Regions from separate parts of the Homo sapiens genome. Here regions 2 and 3 are each linked to region 1. The links are contacts of gene promoters, found by promoter capture Hi-C in blood cells and fetal thymus (Javierre and others, 2016). All regions are on one chromosome and are shown on one strand. The core of a region is centred on a gene start or on the middle of the fragment in contact, and the rest is flanking DNA. Distances in the headings are between cores, read along the strand shown.

The links. The method cuts DNA at HindIII sites, captures the fragments that hold promoters and counts their contacts. A CHiCAGO score of 5 or more calls a contact.
Region 2: a fragment that was not itself captured here is called in contact with the fragment with the promoter of PIR in region 1 in 3 of 17 cell types (total B cells, naive CD8 T cells and total CD8 T cells); the score reaches 7.1 in total B cells.
Region 3: a contact is called between a fragment that was not itself captured here and the fragment with the promoter of PIR in region 1, in 2 of 17 cell types (total B cells and naive B cells). The highest score is 10.0, in total B cells.

The regions. Positions count from the first base shown.
Region 1 is chrX:15,491,980-15,494,679 of GRCh38, reverse strand. It overlaps PIR (pirin), which reads left to right and starts at 1,347. Exons shown (of 10, transcript NM_001018109.3): 1 at 1,347-1,490. RefSeq lists enhancers at 931-1,434, 1,435-1,937. The HindIII fragment of the contact is 4,696 bases long and covers 1-2,700 here.
Region 2 is chrX:16,434,136-16,436,835 of GRCh38, reverse strand. No RefSeq gene overlaps it. Among named protein-coding and RNA genes, the nearest start is that of MIR548AM, 190 kb to the left of the region's middle. The HindIII fragment of the contact is 2,349 bases long and covers 219-2,567 here.
Region 3 is chrX:16,450,623-16,453,322 of GRCh38, reverse strand. The region is part of intron 1 of LOC124905249 (a long non-coding RNA gene); the gene reads left to right. Among named protein-coding and RNA genes, the nearest start is that of MIR548AM, 180 kb to the left of the region's middle. The HindIII fragment of the contact is 8,932 bases long and covers 1-2,700 here.

The DNA of each region.
Region 1 (2,700 bases), core at 98-2,597:
AGAAACAATACTTTGTTATTCCATAGCACCTTTAATGTTCATGTGTATTATCTCAGCTAGCCTTGAACTGCCTAAGTAAGGTGATGAGGACGGGTTTAAGCCCCACTGATATTTTAAAAGCCCAGAGAAAAGTGTTCGTTCCTCTACTAACCTGTTCTTTTAGAGCAGGGATCTGCATACTAGGCCTGCAGCCAAAATGAGTAGGTAGCCCACTACCTATTTTTGTATAGCCAGAGGGCTAAGAATGGTTTTTACATTTTAAGTGGTTTTACATTTAAGATCAAAAGAAGGATAATATTTCATGACAAGTAAAAATTATATGAACTCAAAATTGTATGAATTTTATGAATTTATATTTCAGTATTCATAATTAAAGTTTTATTGAACTACAGCCACATTCATTTATTTACATGTTATCTATGGCTGCTTTCTTGCTACAAAGGCAAACTGGAGAATGTACATGGCCTGCAAAGTCAAAGTATTTACTATCTGGTCCTTCACAGACAAAGTTTTCCAACCTTATTTTAGAGACACCACTGTCTTTCCTTTCTCAAAACCAGGCAATGAGCCTTCTGGTGTTTAGAGAATAGAAACTGCAGCTATGCCTGTACCACTAGTTAATAATCCTAGTAATCAACTAGATCCCCTCACTGGCTTGTGCCAGCTCCTCATTCTTCTGGAAAAACTCTCCAACGCCTGCCCACTGTGTTCCAACACCATACAAACTCTTAACCAATTATCTCCCCACTAGAGTGTGCCTTCTCTTCAGGCAGGAATAAAGACGTATGGCTGCCCGTCCCCACTCCCGCACTCCTTTTCTCGCAATTCTAACTGACAAACAGCAGGCAACTTATCTATGGAACAAACGATTCTGTAGTGCTTAGAATGTGACAGGCTCATTTAATTCTCATTTCAGCCCGATAAGGCTGGCACTATTATCATCACCATCCTCATTTTATAGAGGAGGAACCAGAGGCACAGAGAGACTGAGCCACCTGTCCCAGGTCATGTCAAGTGGTGCCTCCCAGCGGTGGAGGCAGCACTGGAATCCGTGCCGCCAAGCTCCGCCGGCTGGGTGACAGGGAGACTACAGTTAAAAACAGATTTCCCACAAGACCGACCGGAGCGCCGATCAGAGCACCTGCCCGGGCCACACATTTCCTCCTGGAGCACAGCAAGTGCCGCCTAAATTACCCGAGTGAGCATCTCTTCCCGGCACGAGAGGCAGGGAGGCCAAAGGGCCGCCAAGCTGGCCTGGGAGAGGCGTAGGGCGGAGCGAGAGTGGAGTGACATTCCCGAGGGCGGAGCCCCAGGGCCTCCGAGACCCGTAGACTCCCGCCTCCCGCCTCCTCTAGGCCGCCGGCCGCGAAGCGCTGAGTCACGGTGAGGCTACTGGACCCACACTCTCTTAACCTGCCCTCCCTGCACTCGCTCCCGGCGGCTCTTCGCGTCACCCCCGCCGCTAAGGCTCCAGGTGCCGCTACCGCAGCGTGAGTACCTGGGGCTCCTGCAGGGGTCCACTAGGTGAGGGAATGCTGGCGGTCAGTTTGCAAAATCCTGCCTTCCCCAGCTCACTTTAGACTCCTAGGGGAGATAACAAGAGATACTTAAATTGTACTACGAAATTTGGTGAAAATGGTAGACGGCTTTTCTTTCTGCAAAGCACTGAGATCTAAGTACCTCATCAGTTGTTCACATGCATACAATTTAATCGTAGGAGTCTGGAAGGACCCAGACATAATCTAGATGGGGATAAAGATACTTTCTGGTTGCTTCGATGTAGGTGATGACCGGCCTGTACTGCTTTGAGTATTAAGCTCGTTTCTGCGCCTTGCAACCTATCACCCAATAAATATTTATCGATTACTATTCAGGGAGGATACATTTTAGGGTAGGCCTTGACTAAGTGGAGGGTATTGTGGAGTAGAGCCCTTCTGAATAACAGCAGCTAACATTCTCATAGCACTAACTGCACCCCTTTGAGGTAGGCGGTCTTATCATTCCATTTTACAGATAAAACTGAGCCACAGAAAACCTCAGGTCACACAGCTGATATGTGGTGAAGCTGAGATGCAAACCTAGGCTGTCTGGTTCCAGAGTCTGCTTTTTGCCAAAGCACCTCTCTTCGTTTCAGTAGGAATCTTTGAAGGAATTGGGTATATTTCACTTGAAGAAAAGATTTAAGGGATTGGGGGTACTGTCTGCAAACACTTGAAGTGGAATAGGGATAGATTATATTCCTTCTGGGATAGTCCATTAGAACCTAGACCTCCCAAAGAGGAAAAGACTTTCGAATAACAAACTCTGGCTATAGGTAAGTCCTGAAATATGAGATACATTGCCAAGAACAGCTGGTCCATGACTTGCCTATGCTCTAGGAGACTTCATGAGTAAGCTGAAAGATTTCTTGCCCAAAATGTTGGCCCTGAACTTCAGGAATAGATGGGTCTTTGAATTCAATGACCCTCGAAGATCTCTTTTAATGCCAAGATCTTCAGCATGTTCTGGTAAGAGTTAGGGACCTCTTTGTTTTTCTCCATTTTCTCTAAGGCGCCACACAAACCTGCCCCCATCTGTCAGCCTCATTGGTAGCAACTACCTCATGGGTGCTACCAGTGAGGCTGACAGATGAGTGGCACTGGGGAAGGGGTGGGAGATCGAGAGAATTCAGTGAAGTAAGAAAGACAAAGTGTTCATTGG
Region 2 (2,700 bases), core at 144-2,643, 940 kb before region 1:
AGGCATCCATATTAAACTGGGCTACCAGAACTTCTTTCGAGCGCCCTCTAGTGGAACAGTCTGATTCGGACGCCTCTGTTGCCACTGCTGGACATATTCTGTGGGTGACACCGCTGCACTGGATACTAGAAGCCCTGTCAGCACCACCGCTAAGACTTTCTTTGAGTCATTAACTCAAGATTCAAAGAGCTGAGTGGGAGCACCTGATTGGCCAAGCTTAGACTATGTGCCCCCTCCTAGCGCAGCAGCCAGGGCTCAGAGAAAGCCAGAATCTGATCTTTTCTTTTGCAAGAGGGAGGAACTGCCTTCCCTAAGGCTCACGCCATGGGACATTCTCCAGATTTAAGGATAGCATCCAGATCCTGGAAAACCCTTCCTAGAAAAGCAATTACAATGTATTCTTTGGCTACTTGATATCCACATGTACTTTTCTTTCCATATTTTCATGTCACAGTAATCAAGGAAATGTGTAGCGTCTACTGTCACCATTTATACTTCTACCACAAGGCAACAGCTGGTATTTATAACTCCCACCTCTCCCTATTCCAGATCTCCTTTGCCTGCAGCCTGTACCTCAGATTCTCAGTGTGTTTTACTTAGTAGAGTCACTCAAATCTTCATTTCTAAGGAAATTGAACTCTTGGTGGGCCTGCCTGGATTGTCCTGTATTAGTATTTCATTAATTTTTATTACTGGACAAGATAATAATAGGAGGAACTGTAAGACTCACCCAATTTCATTCATACTCATCCCTGCTTGTATCGAGTAGCAGCAACTCAACTGACCCTTAATAGTAAGATGATACTTACTCCTCACCTTTTTTTTTTAATGAGTTTTTTTCTCACCTTTTTTTCTCAAGGGAATGTGTGTGGAGGCCAGCATGGTAATGTGAAAGTCTTGGCTTCTCACTAAATGAAAATCATTCTTGTGGAAAATTTATTTCTTTAGGTACTAAAGCACTTTACATATATTAACAACTTTAGCCCTCCCCAAAATACCGTGGGATTTTACCTTTTACAGATAGGAGAATAGAGGCACAGAGAGGTTAAGTAACCTGTTCAAAATCACACAGCTAGAAAGCAGTAGAGATAGGATTTGAACCCAGCCAATCTGGTCCCTGCTCTTCATGTCTTCTTAATATGATACAGTATTCAGGAATGTCCTGTGTGGTGGCGAGAAAGTCAAGGTTCCTGCATAGCAAATTGTGGAACAGAACTAGAAAAGCCCTGTGACAAGTTGGTAAGGTGTTCTGCTATCCCTGCTAGGTAAAAGCAAAATGCTTCTGGTGTTTATCAGATAAGAGACAAAGATATTTGACTCTGCAAGGATGGACATTTTTGTTTGTTTTGCTCACTTCACTATACCCAGTACCTAGAACATTACCTGGAACATAGTAGGTGCTCAATTCACTGAAGAATGAATAAATGCCAGACACCAGGGACTGGGTTATGTTTCCTCATTAGTAGGCCACATCCATAAATGCAGCTGCAATTGGAATCACCCCCTCATGAAGCACATGTCAATCCACCATCATTCTCCAAGAAGCCCCCATCCTCTGCACTGGACAAACTGGAAAGTTAGGTGGGGATGTACTAGGAATCACCTTCCCTGCATTTCTTAAGATTTTCATGGTGACACTAATTGCTATAATTTTCTCAGATATGGTATTGCTTTTTATTTTTCATTTTGAGTGCAATGGGTAATCCTAGGGGCTTCCATTGGACTTATTTTACCTGTGGTTCAGAGACAATGTGGGGATTCTAGCAGTGGCTAGATTTACCTATTCAAAGTAAATCCTTAGGAAACAGATAGATAAACTATCATGGGCTGAGTTCAGAGTGTTAGTCTGTCCACTTTAAATTAGACTGGGACTGGGACCTAAATGCTATTGATCACCTGAATCTTGTAAGTCTCCACCCTAATTAGTGAGTGGCAGTGTTATTTACTCAGATTCAATGTTCAATAATATCTGAAATGGGTAGGCATTTCCCTTTGCCCAATACGCTGTTTCCTTGATAAATATTTACAAGTCAAAGGATAGGAGGAAGATTCCCCAATATTTTTGTGAAGTAATTTCAGGACACTTCTTTAAGGCCCTGCCTGACTTCCCCTTCATTAGGGGATTCAGGGCCTGTGAAGGTTAGTCTTCCTTGTGCAAGGTAATTCTTACAAGGAAAGAGAGTTACGGAGTCTTCAGGTAAGTCATGAGCTGCCTCAGACGTGGGAGGAAGAATGGCTTGAGCTGAAAACCTAGGTTCAGTGGAGTTTGGAGATTTGGTGTTTGAGGCCTTGACACCCTCCCACTGAACACCATTGCAGTTCTCAGGGTCTGCTCTTTCCTTATTGATGCCCTAACTTTCATATAAGGCCCTTGATGAGTCTGTGATTCAGTTGATGTTCTAAATTAGTCCCCACTGGAGTAGAGGATTGATTCTGGGTAGTTTTGTACTGCTGCTACAAAAAATAAGACATTCTTTTTTAGCACAGGGATACAAAATCCTCCTGGTTCTGGGTTTTGCTTTCAGCCAAGAACTAGGGATTTGAGTATCATTCTCTCTCTTTAAGCTTTCCAGTATTAGCCACCTCATTCTCCAGTCCTGGTTTCTCATGCTGCTGTATATGGCACCACCAATGTGGGCTCCCAAGGCTTGCTTACAAACCACCAATGTGGGCCCCCAAGTCTTGCTTACAAAAAAAATT
Region 3 (2,700 bases), core at 114-2,613, 960 kb before region 1:
TTTTTTAGTGGAGGTATGACGTGATAAAAACTGTGGTTAAGGATTGCTTCTATAATAATACAGTCACGCCCCACATAACGTTTTGGTCAAGGATAAACCACATTTGCAACAGTGGTCCTGTACGATCATAATACCGCATTTTTACTGTACTTTTTCTACATTTATTTATTTACTCTAAATATAGAGACAGAGTCTCACTCTGTCACCCAGGCTGGAGTGCAATGGCGCGATCTCAGCTCATTGCACCCTCTGCCTCTGGGGCTCAAGCAATTTTCCTGCCTCAGCTTCCCAAGTAGCTGGGACCACAGATGTGCACCACCATGTCTGGCTAATTTTTGTATTTTTTGTAGAGACAGGGTTTCGTCATGTTGCCCAGGCTGGTCTTGAACTCCTGAGTTCAAGCGATCCACCCACCTCAGCCTCCTGAAGTGCTGGAATTACAGGCATGAGCCACCGCACCTGGCACTTTTTCTATGTTTAAATGCAAAAAAAAGATACTTAACATTGTGTTACAACTGCCTATAGCATTCAGTAGTCACATCCTGTGCAGGTTTGTAGTCTAAAGCAATAGGCCATACCACATAGCCTAGGTGTGTAGGTTTGTATAAGTACACTCTATGATGTTTGCACAATTACAAAAATCACCTAAAGAAGCATTTCTCGGATTGTATTCCCATCGTTGAAGTGACCCACAACTGTGTATTGGATGGATGGCAGGAGAGGAAGAAACCCCAAAACGGCAGTTCAACATTACAAATTATACCTCTAAATTGAGACAGGGGAAGTGCCACTGTGGTCAGAGGGTTTGAGGAGACTTCAGGGAGGGGATGGTTGGAAATTGATCTGAATCTTGAAGGACGCACAGGATATTTGGAGGGAGGTGAGAGTCATTCCAGGGTGGGAGATGTTTATGAACTGTCATCCAGTCACGTTAAGAAATAAAAAAATTGGCCGGGCACGGTGGCTCACGCCTATAATCCCAGCACTTTGGGAGGCCGAGGTAGGCAGATCATCTGAGGTCGGGAGTTCAAGACCAGCCTGACCAACACGGAGAAACTCCGTCTCTACTAAAAATACAAAATTAGCTGGGGTGGTGGCACATGCCTGTAATCCCAGCTACTCAGGAGGCCGAGGCAGGAGAATCACTTGAACCCGGGAGGTGGAGGTTGCAGTGAGCCGAGATCGCGCCATTGCACTCCAGTCTGGGCAACAAGAATGAAACTCCATCTCAAAAAAAAAAAAAAAAAAAAAAGAAATAAATAAAAAAATTAACACCTTATTTTGAACTCCTTCCCATTGCCCATTCACATTCTGGGCAATTGTCTCACTTCTACTGCTGCTTGCATGTAAAATCTGTACTCTGTGCCAGGGCCTTGAGTGCCTTGTACAACACACTCAAAAAAATCTCTATAAATGTCTCTTCCCAAGTCTCTCCTCTCAGCCATTCAATTTCCCAGCTCCAGCCCCGACACCACTTATCCCTTCAGGCGGCTTCTCCCCTTCTTTCATTCCTCCCCTGGGAAGATTTCAGCCCTGTCCTGGTTTCTTTCTTTAGTCTTGTTACTGCCACCCAACAGGCAGGATTCCTTAGGTATGGAGGGGCCATTTTACTGAGGATAAAGCATTTGGGGTGCCTCCAGCTCTCGGCACCTGCCCGCCTGCCGACTGCTATCATAGAGTGAATTGAAGATTTTTTATAAAGGTACTTTTCATTGTGCAAGTTAAGTACAAACATGATCCCTCACTGTAAGAAACTTATGATCTCACCATTGGGTGGGGCTATACAAGACTGAAGAAAGAAGCCAGGACATGGGGAAAATTTTCCACATAAGTAGGGTAGATGGTGATATCTGAGCTGGAGGAAAAAGATGAGCCCAGGAGTTGCATGGCTCAGAGAAAAGACTTGGGGAGAGGTATTTATAGGAAATTTTATGAGATGTGCTATGTGCTGTGCAGTGCAGATTTCTTATTCATCTCCTCAGGAGACGATCAGTGGATTTTCACTGATTCTTTAGCACAAATGGATCCTTTATGATGTCTGAGGAGAGTGCTCAGTCCTGCTTATGGTGAGAGGACAGAGGCTGCCACCTGTGAGATTGGACACAGGGACTTTCTTGCTCTCCTGCTTCTCCTCTTGGCCCAGCATGGTGGAATACAGGCTGGATGCCCAGTAAATACTTCTGATTCAAATGTATTTTTATTTTTACAACTTCCCTTTGAGACCCACAATTTTATCCTTGTTTTCCAGATAGGAAAACCATGAGCCTGAATTACCATACTTCTGCTTCCCAGATTCTTGCACACTATAGGAGAGATATTAGAGGATTTATGCTAGATACTGTCTTCTACTTTATACATTATATCCGAATGCATAAGTCTTATTTCAGTCACACAGCCTTCACTTTTGTGTTTCATTTTCACTTTTCAGCACAAAGATTATATATTATATCTGGGTAATAAAATCAGAGGTAATGTTTGGCTCCAAGAAAGCAAACATATATCTACCTATGTTGAAATTTTACCCCTTTTCCACAATAGTTCAATAGCCATTAAGACTCATGCCTAAGAAAGCAGTGATAAATAAGAGGAACATATGTACAAAACGTTGGTTAAAGGCACAAAGCCATGGGTGCTCGAGGAATTCTGAAATATTTGAACTCATCAAGAATTCTGTTGGAGTTCTATCAGTGTTTGCTGGAC